Linked DNA regions of Homo sapiens: region 2 is linked to region 1. The links are contacts of gene promoters, found by promoter capture Hi-C in blood cells and fetal thymus (Javierre and others, 2016). All regions are on one chromosome and are shown on one strand. The core of a region is centred on a gene start or on the middle of the fragment in contact, and the rest is flanking DNA. Distances in the headings are between cores, read along the strand shown.

Region 1 (5,949 bases), core at 2,033-4,532:
AACAAATAAAAATAAATTAAAAAACAAATAATAATTATATCGACATCAACATATAAATACATGGAATTAATTTATTCATTTTTGTAGAGATGAACCTTCGTTATGTTGCCCAGGCTGGTCTCAAACTTCTGGTCTCAAGTGATTCTCCCTCCTTGGCTTTCCAAAGCTCTGGGTGACAGGCATGAGCCACTATGCCCAGCCAATATGTATGATATTTAAATGTGATTGAGTATCAAGCGAGATCACATATGAATAGTTGATCCTAAATCCTCAAACACTACACAATTAATTAGTAGTAGAAGCACATTATAATTCAGAGGATGGACTTTGGAGTCAAACAGAAGTGGGTTCCAGTCCTGTCTCTGCCACATCCTCTCTTTGTGGCCTTGGGCAAATGTCTTACCCTCTTTAAGCATCCATGCCCTCCTCTGTAACATGGGCACCATAAGAATATGCACTGGCCGGGCATGGTGGCTCACTCCTGTAATCCCAGCACTTTGGGAGGCTGGGCGGGGGAGTCATGAGGACAGGAGATCGAGACCATCCTGGCTAACACGGTGAAATCCCATCTCTACTGAAAATACAAAAACTTAGCTGGGCCTGGTGGCAGGCACCTGTAGTCCCAGCCACTCGTGGGGCTGAGGCAGGAGAATTGCTTGAACCTGGGAGGCAGAGGCTGCAGTGAGCCAAGATCGTGCCACTGCACTCCAGCCTGGGAGACAGAGCAAGACTCCATCTTAAAAAAAAAATATATATATATATATATGCACCTCACTGTCACCAGGGTTGGCTGAGATACTCTGTGTAAAGCACTTAGAATAAGGGCTAGCGAACTACAAGTGCTCTGCACAGCTTAGCTCTCGGTGTTTGAACTAGAATAGATGCCCATTTACCCACATCAGGCCCTCTTCCTGCACCTCCTGGCACTTGATTTCAGTGTTTGCATTGCATCACTGCTTCCCTCCCTGCCTGGTTTGGACCGCACAGTCAACTGCCGCGTGTCCTGCCTCATGGAGCCCCTCCCACTTTATCTCCCTGTTGTTCCTGTCTGGATTGTTACAATGTCCTCTCTGCTCCGGGCTTCCCAACTGTAATCCATCCTACGCTGTGGACCACCCATGGCTTTGCTCCTGCCAAGTGGACACTAAACATGGATGTGGCCCCATTTTGTGTTATTGGTTCTATTTGAATTCACATGCTTGCCTTGAGTCCCTGAGTCCCATGTGCAACTAAAACAGAAAGATAAAATCAAAGTAACCCTTTGTTCTTGCGGCTGTCTTCAGTAATATAAGGTGGGTCTGCATTGCTCAACAGAAAGTCTTCCGGTTCATTAAAACTGTACATCATTGGTACCATAAATATCCAACAAATATCAACTTGGCCATGAATTCTAATCAGCTACCTATAATACTACCAAAAATATCTTAATCTGGATGTGGCTATACACTGAAAATTTTGGTTTTTGCTGGTTGGTTATGGGCTTTGGTTTAGTGGTGCTAGAAAAAAACATAGCAGTTTTTGCTGTGACAGAGGATATGGTAAAACTCTCTGTCCAATTTCAGAATGCAGACGACAGACCCAAGCTTCAGTCATTTCATATAAACCTGCAGGGTGTCAAATGAAACTATTTTTTAAATGATGTTTTAACCCTATCTTTGCTGGTTGGCTGTGTTCTTGCTAAGGAGGCTTCTTAGATTCTGTGAAGCAAGCCAGACCAAAAAATAATTTGTTAAACGGATGTGGAAAAATGATTTAAAAAATCAGAATACTTTAGTGATGGATCCCCAAAGACTTCTCAGTTTTTTAAGTCTGGTCCTAAGCTACTTGGCTAGGAAATGACCAAAAATGGTCAAGAGATATCTTTGGAGTGTACCTTTTAGAAAACCTTTCCTCTACACTGCATCTGCAAACTGGGATTACCGGGAACTTTGAAATAATTGTACAGCTCCATCTAATCAGAATACTCAACAATTAAAATTCACTGATGCCAAAAATGGAAAGAAAATAAGTAAATAACTCTTAAGAGCAGTGGCACCATTTTTTTTAAATAACTTCCTCCTCCTGCCTTCAACTCTCAGAAGATTATCACAAAAACATCCATATTATGAATAGTTTTATAGGTCAGTTCCCTTCCGTACCACTAGGCATACACTGATGATCATTTCCAAATTTTTCCAGACTGCTTTGATATCATGTGATTCATTTTAAGTAGAGGCAGTTTTGTGAATTCCCTAGCCAAACTTTTTAGATTGTGGATTTTCATATAAATAAATTGACAGACCGGTGGGGGTGGAGGGGGAAATAGAAAAAGGAAAAAAATGTTTTTGTAAACTATCTTACTCCTAATCTGTTATTGAGTGAGCCATTTTTGGCTCTAAGGCACCCTAGCCCGTTAATTCAAGGTTACCTTCGGTCATTGCCATGGCTCCAGTGCTTATTATCATTGCCTCATCCACATCTTTTGAGAACACTCTGAGAATCTACACGGCTTTAACACACTTCTTCGCACTAGTGAGAACGCCCGCAATGCCTTATTCAGTAAGGTTAAATGAGTTTGTTTGCTGAAACATTCGCCACATGATCCCAACGCTCCTCCAGCTCCATCCCGTCTATAATCGCAGAGCGAACACTCACTCACCTTGGGCGTGTCAATAATTGATGGTCTGGGGATGGAAGCGTGAAACACCACTGCTTCACAGTCCGCCCCATCATCCAGGGACCCGGGCACATCTTCAGGCGTCTCCGCGGGCTGGGCCGCAGTGCGGTGACTTGAATTCCGATTCGCACTGCCATTTCTCTCTGCATGGGTGCTCGAATCTTGCCTTTTCTCTGGAGCTCCTTCTGCGCTTGGGTGTCTTGGCTGTCTGCCTGCTTTGGCCACAGGCTGCACACGGACGGTGGAATGAGTATCAGCCACGCCGGACTGATTGAAGGAAGCACTCTCCCTCGTATTCCCAAAACAGGCGAGCAGAGCTGAGCACGGAAATGGATGCATGCTTCTAGAGGGAGACTTCAGTCTTTTGGTGAGTCTTGCTTTCCACGTGGACATGACTTGCAGTGAATCATTGCAAAGTTCAAACGGGGCAAGGAAATTTTCCAGGGGTCCACATCACCTCCACTTTGCTTATAGGAACTCTTTCCAATTGCCCGAAGAGAAGAACTTGCTAGTGGTTGCCCCTAAATAGAAGTTGGGATGGCAAGGCCACCTTCCCTGAGAGTCACTTAGCCGCTGGGGCCCCTTTGAAAGTGTCCATCCTGGGCAATTTCGCGCTCTTCCTTCTGTGATGCTGTCAGTGGCTAAAGAAAGCTGTTGGGGAGGCATGTGAGTGGCTCCGGTTACAGTTCCTAGGCAGGGCAGACGCTTCAGGGTAGGGTAGTGCCAAGTCAATAGACAATTGCTTCAGGTTACCTAGGAGGCATAAAGATAATGTAGCCTGATAGCATCTGCCATAATAGCGTCAGCCTGCGTATCAATAACATCATAACAGCAGCAAAACCTTCTTTGGTTACCCCCCTTCAAATATTTATTCCCCCAAACAAAACAAAAACGACCCAGTTGTCCATCACAAATGAAGACCCCTAGAAGGGCCACGACCCTAGCAGCTGTTTCATTATTAAAATAGGAGGTAGACTCAATCTTTCGCCTGGAGAGATGCGGTGTGATGTGTTTTCTGAATCTTTCTGGACTTTTCGGGATCTTTCCGGAATCTTCCCGGAATCTTCCCCCCACCCTCAAAACAAGTTTCCTGGTTTCAGGATCCACATTGCCTTTTCTGATAACTATAAATAGGTCTTTGGTAATTTGATTTTTTTTTTTTTACTAGCTAGGCTAAGTTCTTGATTAGTTTTCAACAATACCAAAAAGAAAAAAGAGAGCCCTACATTAACAATTATCCTTATGTATTATGTTATTATGTGTGGAGGTATTATGTACATGTGAAGTATTCTACCTATATGGTATATATCACCTACTTTCAGAAAGTAACTCCTTTTTGAACATAGATCTTCTGTTTCTCAACACATTAATATGTGAATGGTGAAAAATAATAAATTATAAACATATTCTAAGACAATTCAGAATCAAGATTTTTCCTTAGCCAACTGTCTGCTAGGAATGTTATAGAAATGTAATACTGTAATGCTTTTACCGTTAATAGTGATTTTAGGGTCAAGATTTCTGGGCATGTTACCCACTCTTAATTAATTTGTTTGCTCTCTCTTTTAATTTAATGTCAAGATGTGCTCTTTGGCCCAGACAGGTGGTAGTTATTATATTATGGCACTGATTCCCGTTTTACAGAGGCAGAAACCAATTCTTTGAAATTTCATGTGACTAAGGCAAGTTTATGCCACTAAGAAGGGCTTGTTGGGTGCCCGAGATCCCTGTTCTCCTATCTGTCCTCTGAGTCTCATTCTATCTAACAATCATTTTATAGATGTAATGGCCATACGGGAAATATTGTTCTAAATGGACAGTCATATTCATAATACAAAAAGGCAGATATGGCTTTAGAATGAGTGGATATGGCATCAAATGCACATTTTATTTTAGTCTCTACTGAAAGTTAGAATATAGAAAGCTTCCATTTATTTAGAGGTTACCGTGTGGCAGGCCCCGTGCTATCCAAGCTGTTTCTGGCTTCCCAGGGTTGTGAGCTCATTCTTTTTTCATTGTGTCCCAAGTGCAAGCTGTCCAAATTCCCCACCCATAAGAAATCAGGGGGTTCAGGTTTCTACCAGGGTCCCCCCTCCCAGATATTCCTGGAGACCCCTCGGAACTGCACTTTGTCTCCCATTTGACTTGGTTGCTACAGTCCACTCGGGTCGGGTCGTGCCATGCTGTGCCCCTCCAAGCACACGTATAGTAAATCGGGGCTGTGATGCTGCATAAGACATTTTTGAAGGCTTGGAGGTAACAGGAAGGGATTTAAGAAAAGAAAAATGCACTCTTACACCTGGTTTCATTCACTCATTCATATATTCATTCAATTATGTGTCAAGCCCCTTTTGGAACAGAGAGTCAGCAGTTCACAGTGCAGCTTGCGAGCGGCCACATTCAGGAGACCGCTGAGGAAGAAAGCTCAGAGCCACTTTCTAGGTCTGCGGAGGCCCTGGGCTTGCATCCGGGCTCTGAGGACCACCTCTCCTCGCTCAGTGGGTGTGCTCAGAGGCACGCATGAACTCATCGGAGTTCCAGCACTGGCCCGCTAAGAACAGTAGACTTTCTGATTAGTGTGTTGCTAAGTCTGACCTAGAATAACACTCAGTAACAGGCCATGGTTATTGAGTGTTTGGTATCAGACATGAATCTCAGCAAATTAACTCATTTAATCCTCACAACCCTAGAAGAAAGGTGATATTATTATTCCCATTTTTACTCATTAGAAAACCAAGACACAGAAACTTAAGTAACTTGCCCAAGGTCACAGCACTGCTTAAGGAAATGAGAAAAGGTGATGAGTCCAGCAACCTGGCCCCAGAGCTCATACTTTTCTCAGTATGCAATCCTGCTTTCCAAAAACACACATGCACGTGCACACACACAGATACATACTCCAGAGAGGACATTTCCAATGACCTTGATCCAACACTCTACCTCTAAGAAGTTATTTTGTAATGACGATCTTTAAAAAGTCAGGAAACAACAGATGCTGGAGAGGATGTGGAGAAATAGGAACACTTTTACACTGTTGGTGGGAGTGTAAATTAGTTCAACCATTGTGAAAGACAGTGTAGAGATTCCTCAAGGATCTAGAACTAGAAATACCATTTGACCCAGCCATCCCATTACTGGGTATATACCCAAAGGATTATAAATCATGCTACTATAAAGGCACATGCACACGTATGTTTATTGTGGCACTATTCACAATAGCAAAGACTTGGAACCAACCCATATGTCCACCAACAATAGACTGGATAAAGAAAATGTGGCACATATATACCATG
Region 2 (5,949 bases), core at 968-3,467, 290 kb before region 1:
CCTCCTCCCCACAGTGCTCCCCGTTTCACCTCCTCCATAATATTTCTAACACACAACACATCATATTTCATGTAAGACATGAATGTTGACGCACACTATTACGTTTTATGTCAACAAAAGAGAAGGGCGGCTAACTGAGTCATGGCCTTGACATTAGGTCACACTGATGCGGGGCAGCTGAGCCCCATCATGGAGCTTAGCCCACAAGGCTTCTTGGCTTTGCCCAGGAAAGAATTCAAGGGCAAGCCAAAAGTAAAAGAAAACAGTCTTAGCGTTACAACTCTGTGACTGCCCCCGCAGAGCAGGGCTACCCAGTAGGCAGAGAGTAGCAGCTCAGGGCAGGGCAATTTTGCAGCCATATTTATACACACGTTTAGCTGCATGCAGATTAAGGAGTGGTTTATGCACGGGAGGGGTAGTAACTTTTGGATGGTTGGGTGCCGTGGAAAGAGGCAGTACCTCCCGAGTGTTGCCATGGCAACAGTAAATTGACCTGGTACACTGGTGGGTGGGTCTGATTGAATGCTGCTTTCATCCTGGCCCTGTTTCAGCTAGTCCTCAATCTGATCTGGTGTCCGAGCTCCACCTCTGGAGGTGAGTCCTGCCTCTTACCTCAACACCTCACCAATTTTTTTTTTTTTTACTAATTTGGAGATTTTAAGAGACTTCTCATGCCTTGAAAACCTTTGCATGTGATAGGCAGTCCTTTTGCAAACATAGCTCAGTAGTAAGACATGACAAAGCTTCACCCTCTTGCGGGTATCTTCTTTTCTTACAGTGTCAAAACATGACTGGTTGTTTATAAGGAAACACGGAATTGTGGTCACTCTCCCAAAGATGAATACTTGCTTTTGGGTTTCCATGCCTCTCCATGTACACAATAACCTTTTGTTTCAATTTCAGATCATCGTGGAATCTTTTTGAAGACATTTGAATGGCAAAATAAATCCTTTACGCATAGTACTGGCAAAGAGCCCAGCTGAGCTGAAGCAGGAACACTATGAGCAGCTTTTCTCAGGTTTGCAACTTCGGGGGAAATGGCAATTCCTTAAAGGCAGCTGCCCGGCCAGCAGCAATGATAAGATGCCAGCGATTATAGAATGCACCCCAGTTTCAAAGTTGCTAATGTGAAACATCATGCTTCTAAGAATCAACAAAATATAGTAATGTACTCACTTTGTCTATTATCTAGCTGCCTCTACTAGTTAGCAAGCTCTGTGATGATGACAGTAAACTTGGTGTATCTACTGATACCTCACCAGTGCCTATAACAGGACTTGGCCCATAGTACCGAGAACTGGAGAATGACCACAGTTCCATGTTTTCTTATAAACAACTAGTCAAGTTTTGACACTGTAAGAAAACAAGAGACCTCCAATCAAGTGAATGGACCCGCTTCTGGCTAAGGGAATCTCAGAAAAAGCTTAAAAACGAAGTTCCTGGCCATGACGGAAGAGGAGGTCAGACACATCTTGTCATACCCCTTCCCTTTTGTGGTTTAGCTACAACAACTGACCAGCATTCATGTTAAAATAGAAATCATCAGACTGATGGGATACGGATGCTTTGTGGCCATAAGATACCAAATTATGAACAGGACCTAAAGCCTTGCCAGGCAAGGGTTAAGCCACACACCCTACACTTTAAAAGAATAAACTATGTTCTAACGGCCACAAGGTTTCATTTTTCTCTAGCAGCTAAACAAACACTGGCCTTGACATAAGCAATATGAAAACAATTGCAGCCAGGTGCAGTGGCTCACACCTGTAATCCCAGCACTTTGGGAGGCAGAGGCGGGCAGATCGCCTGAGGTCAGGAGCTCGAGACCAGCCTGGTCAACATGGCAAAACCCCGTCTCTACTAAAAATACAAAAATTAGCCAGGCGTGGTGGCGGGCACCTGTAATCCCAGCTACCCAGGAGGCTGAGGCAGGAGAGTCGCTGGAACCCAGGAGGCAGAGGCTGCAGTGAGCCAAGATCGCGCCACTGCACTCCTGCCTGGGCAACAAGAGCGAGACTCCATCTAAAAAAAAAAAAATTTGCAGCTCGTGTACTTCCAGATGCTGATTAACTGACCCCCATCCCACCAGCCATCACTACAGCTTTGATTGGAGAAGAGACTGATTTCAGTAACTTTGTCCTGATCAGAGGCTGCTGACCGTAGACTGGTTGTGGCCAGTTTACAGAGGCTGTGCACTCAGTGCCAGAGGGAAGCTAGGGAGGAGGGAAGGAAGGAAGGAAAGAAGGGAGGGAGGGAGGGAGGGAGGGAAAGGTTTACTACCTATACACAGTAAGAAGTCCACTCACTGATGCAATTGGATCTTGGTGTCCCTGCTTCACCTTTTGATGTATAGGGTCTAACTTGAATACACTTAAATGTTAAGTCTCTGCCCCAAAGTGAACATGGAATACATGTAACGTGCATGTTTGCTTATCATGCATGTGCCCTCACTTTGTGATAATGCTTAGCTTTTCCTGTAATCTGTAGACCAACCCATTCAACATAAATTCCTGTTTCATTTCCTCCAAGTGCTTGCCTTGGGGTTGATAATATTATTTTTCAGTCTTATACGCTATTTCCACTGAATAGCATATTAGGCTGTGCTTCCCAGCCAGTCAAGATGACCACCTTGCAGGCTATAACCCTTTATAATAAATAAGATCTCCTTTCCAAATGTATAGATTGGGTGATTTTTAAGTTGACAGTATGCAATCGACTGTTTTTTAAGTGAATGCACAGATGAGACAGGATTTCACACCTGCCCTGTATAGCTGGAAAGCCAGGATCTCCCACTGCCTCTGTGGCACATGGCATTTCTTTCCAGATTGGAAGGCAATTGCATGTCATAGTCACTCTGCTTTGCTCCCTGACCCTTTGGCTGGCTGAAAGCCTCTTTTCCAGTAAAAGAGGGAACAGTGGCCTGACACATGTCATCCAAAAGATGATTGATGATTTTCTAGGCTGCTATGGGGTTTTTAGCAAATTCTTGTAGAATCAAGTGTGAAGGCCACAGAAGCTTCAGCCACAACACTCTTGTCTTTATAAATCAAAACAAGAGCAGAAGAAAGAATTAAAGGACAAAGGAAAAGGAAAGAGAAGGAGGGAAGGAAGGAAGGAAGGAAGGAGGGAAGGAGGGAGGGAGGGAGGGAAGGAAGGAAAAGGAAAGGAAAGGAAGAGGAAGGGAAGGAGGGAGGGAAGGAAAGGAAGGAAAGAAAGGAAAAGAAAGGAAAGGAAAGAAGAGTTACTACCTATACACAGTAAGAAGTACACTTGCTGATGCAATTGGATCTTGGTTTGATGGGTTCATGAGGAGGCAAAGATGTTAATTCCCGGGGCACTTGGATGTTTCAGAAGCCAAGGAAGTTCTCAAGCAACCCAGGAAGAGCTGCAACCCTCATCAGGAAAAATTATCCAGGCTCTCAACCTCCTGGGCTTCCGAGGCATATATCTGTGCCTGCCTGTCCCCAAATGGTATGCCTGGAGTGTGGGAAGACGGGCTTCAGAATTATTCAATTTAATAAACAGCTAAACAAAAAGGAAAAGGGAAAAAATATTTCTCACTGGCTGCACATTGCTTTAAATCCTTGTTCTTGTGGTTTATATTTTATGGAAATCTGTGTTTGGGAAAACACAAGGAGTGTCCTCCATGAACAGATACTGTTTTTCTTCTATACTCATGACACAAAAATTTGTTTCTACAGCCATCATGGGAGGTGCTCCTAGTACCTCCTTCAGATCTAATGCAGGTGTTTGAAGCCTAATGATGCAGGACATCTGTTTTAATTACCTTTACAGCTGTCCAAACTCACCTGTTATACAGTATGCACATTTCACTTTAATAATGATATGTATAATGTGCTATTTCACGTTAATTAGCACAACAGCTTTTCATTTCAATGCCAACAGAACCTTGAGCCTTTAAGGTCTTAATCTCAACTAACTCAATTCTAAGGTTATTTATGACTTTATTGCTTTGTGCTTTTGTTACTTTTTTCCACTCAAAATTCACAAATTAGCAAGCTAAAGAAAAAGTCTCTTCATTCAGGGATTCTGAAAGTGTGGTTGGGGCAAACCAATAATCAAAGCCTGGACACTTGCCCTCACATTTGTCTCATTCAACAGGATTCAGTGAGCCCCTGCTAGAGGCTATGGCTGAGCACCATGCCAGGCACTGGGGCTGCAAAATGCATGAGGCATGACCAGTGACTTGGGAGGGAGGAGGGACTTAAATGATAAAGTCTTTGATTTGAAAGAATTTAAATTTTTCTTACTCGATGTTTATCATTTTCCTCACGTGATGCTCTTTTCAAAGAACACATTCTTCCTATTAAAACAATAATAAAATCCTTTACAGGGAAAGCTGATTGGACTAGGACATGGCTGCATAGATTCTACCTCATCAAATGGTCCAAAGGCCTTTCTTCCAAATTTCTGGCAGGAGCATCCTAAAGTACCGTCTCCAAGAACAAAGGACATTCCAACTTACAGTGGGCACACTCCAATGTCTCCTAGCTCTCCAAAGCAGAAACATAGTTTAAACATTTAAATCAGATGTGAAAAGTGAGCTTAGGGCCAAAAGAAATTAGCACTGATAAAGTGAAAGTGAAAAGTAATTTGATATGCGTGGGTTATCCTCCACTTCACCCCCATTTGTTTAGCTTTTATGGGAATGGGGTTTTTCAAGGGAATTCCAAATGGGAATTTCCTATAAGGAGATATTTGTGATCTCTTAGCCTCATGCTAGGGGACCGGTACAAGAAGATGAAGATGAGGGTGTCTTGGGTTTACATTGACAAACATGGTAACTCCAGTAAATCTTCTACAGATTTATCACAACTGTTGCCAGTGATATTGATTTTTAAAACTCATAGGTAAAGAAAATCTTATCTAAATCCTTTTGCTGCAATATTCATGCACCTAGTTGTCTTACCCTTGTCTCTTGGAAAGTAAAATTGTATTTACTTCACTGTGTATTGGCATTCATTATACCCCATGGGGAACACTAGTTGATCACCAGGATGCCATTATAGAGTAGAGGGAAAGGCATCTCTCTGAGATGAAAGTAGAGATCCTTTCTTTCAAAACCATCCTCTTGTGAAAACCCCCTGGTTCGATTCTTTGAACTAGTCCCTGGCTTCCTTCTCTTTTCCAGATGTTTCAGTCTCCACTTCCTTGATGACCAACCTTTTACTTCCTACTTATAACATGAATCATAGGGTTTGCTAGTCACTGAATGACAAGTCAGAGAGATCCAAAGCATGAGAAGGATTAATGTGCTGTTGCTGGCCAAAGAGAGGCCTCTAGGATCAGGGAATGACCACACACACACACACACACACACACACACACACGCATGCGCGCACACACACACACACATGCACGCAACATACATAGAAACTGACAGAAAATCAATGAAATAGAGACCTCAGTCCTACACCCACAAGGAACTAAATCCTGCCAATGAGCTAAATGAGCTTGGAATGAATTCATCCACAAAGCTTCAGATAACAGCCCAGCCCAGCGCAGCCCAGCTAACATCTTGACTTAGGCCTTGTGAGAGCTTAAGCAGAGAAGCCAGTTAAGCCCATCTAGACTTCTGACCTATAGGATTGTGAGCTAAAAACTGAGTGATATTTTACATTGCTAAGTTTGCGGTGATTGTTACAGAGCAACAGAGATTAACACAATATTGGCCGGGCGCAGTGGCTCACACCTGTAATCCTAGAACTTTGGGAGGCCAAGGCAGGTGTATCACTTGAGGCCAGGAGTTCGAGACCAGCCTGGCCAACATGGTGAAATGCCATCTCTACTAAAAATACAAAAATTAGCCATACATGGTGGTGGGCTCCTGTAATCCCAGCTACTAGGGAGGCTGAGGCAGGAGAATCGCTTAAACCCAGGAGGCGGAGGTTGCAGTGAGCCGAGGTCACACCACTGCACTCCAGCTTG

Evidence for each region. The method cuts DNA at HindIII sites, captures the fragments that hold promoters and counts their contacts. A CHiCAGO score of 5 or more calls a contact.
Region 2: a fragment that was not itself captured here is called in contact with the fragment with the promoter of FAM107B in region 1 in 1 of 17 cell types (neutrophils); the score reaches 5.5 in neutrophils.

What each region holds. Positions count from the first base shown.
Region 1 is chr10:14,771,615-14,777,563 of GRCh38, forward strand. It overlaps FAM107B (family with sequence similarity 107 member B), which reads right to left and starts at 3,283. Exons shown (of 5, transcript NM_031453.4): 1 at 2,639-3,283. The coding sequence starts at 3,049. The HindIII fragment of the contact is 2,997 bases long and covers 1,582-4,578 here.
Region 2 is chr10:14,486,803-14,492,751 of GRCh38, forward strand. LOC124902380 (a long non-coding RNA gene) reads left to right here and starts at 468. Exons shown (of 2, transcript XR_007062062.1): 1 at 468-594; 2 at 904-1,673. The HindIII fragment of the contact is 1,593 bases long and covers 1,422-3,014 here.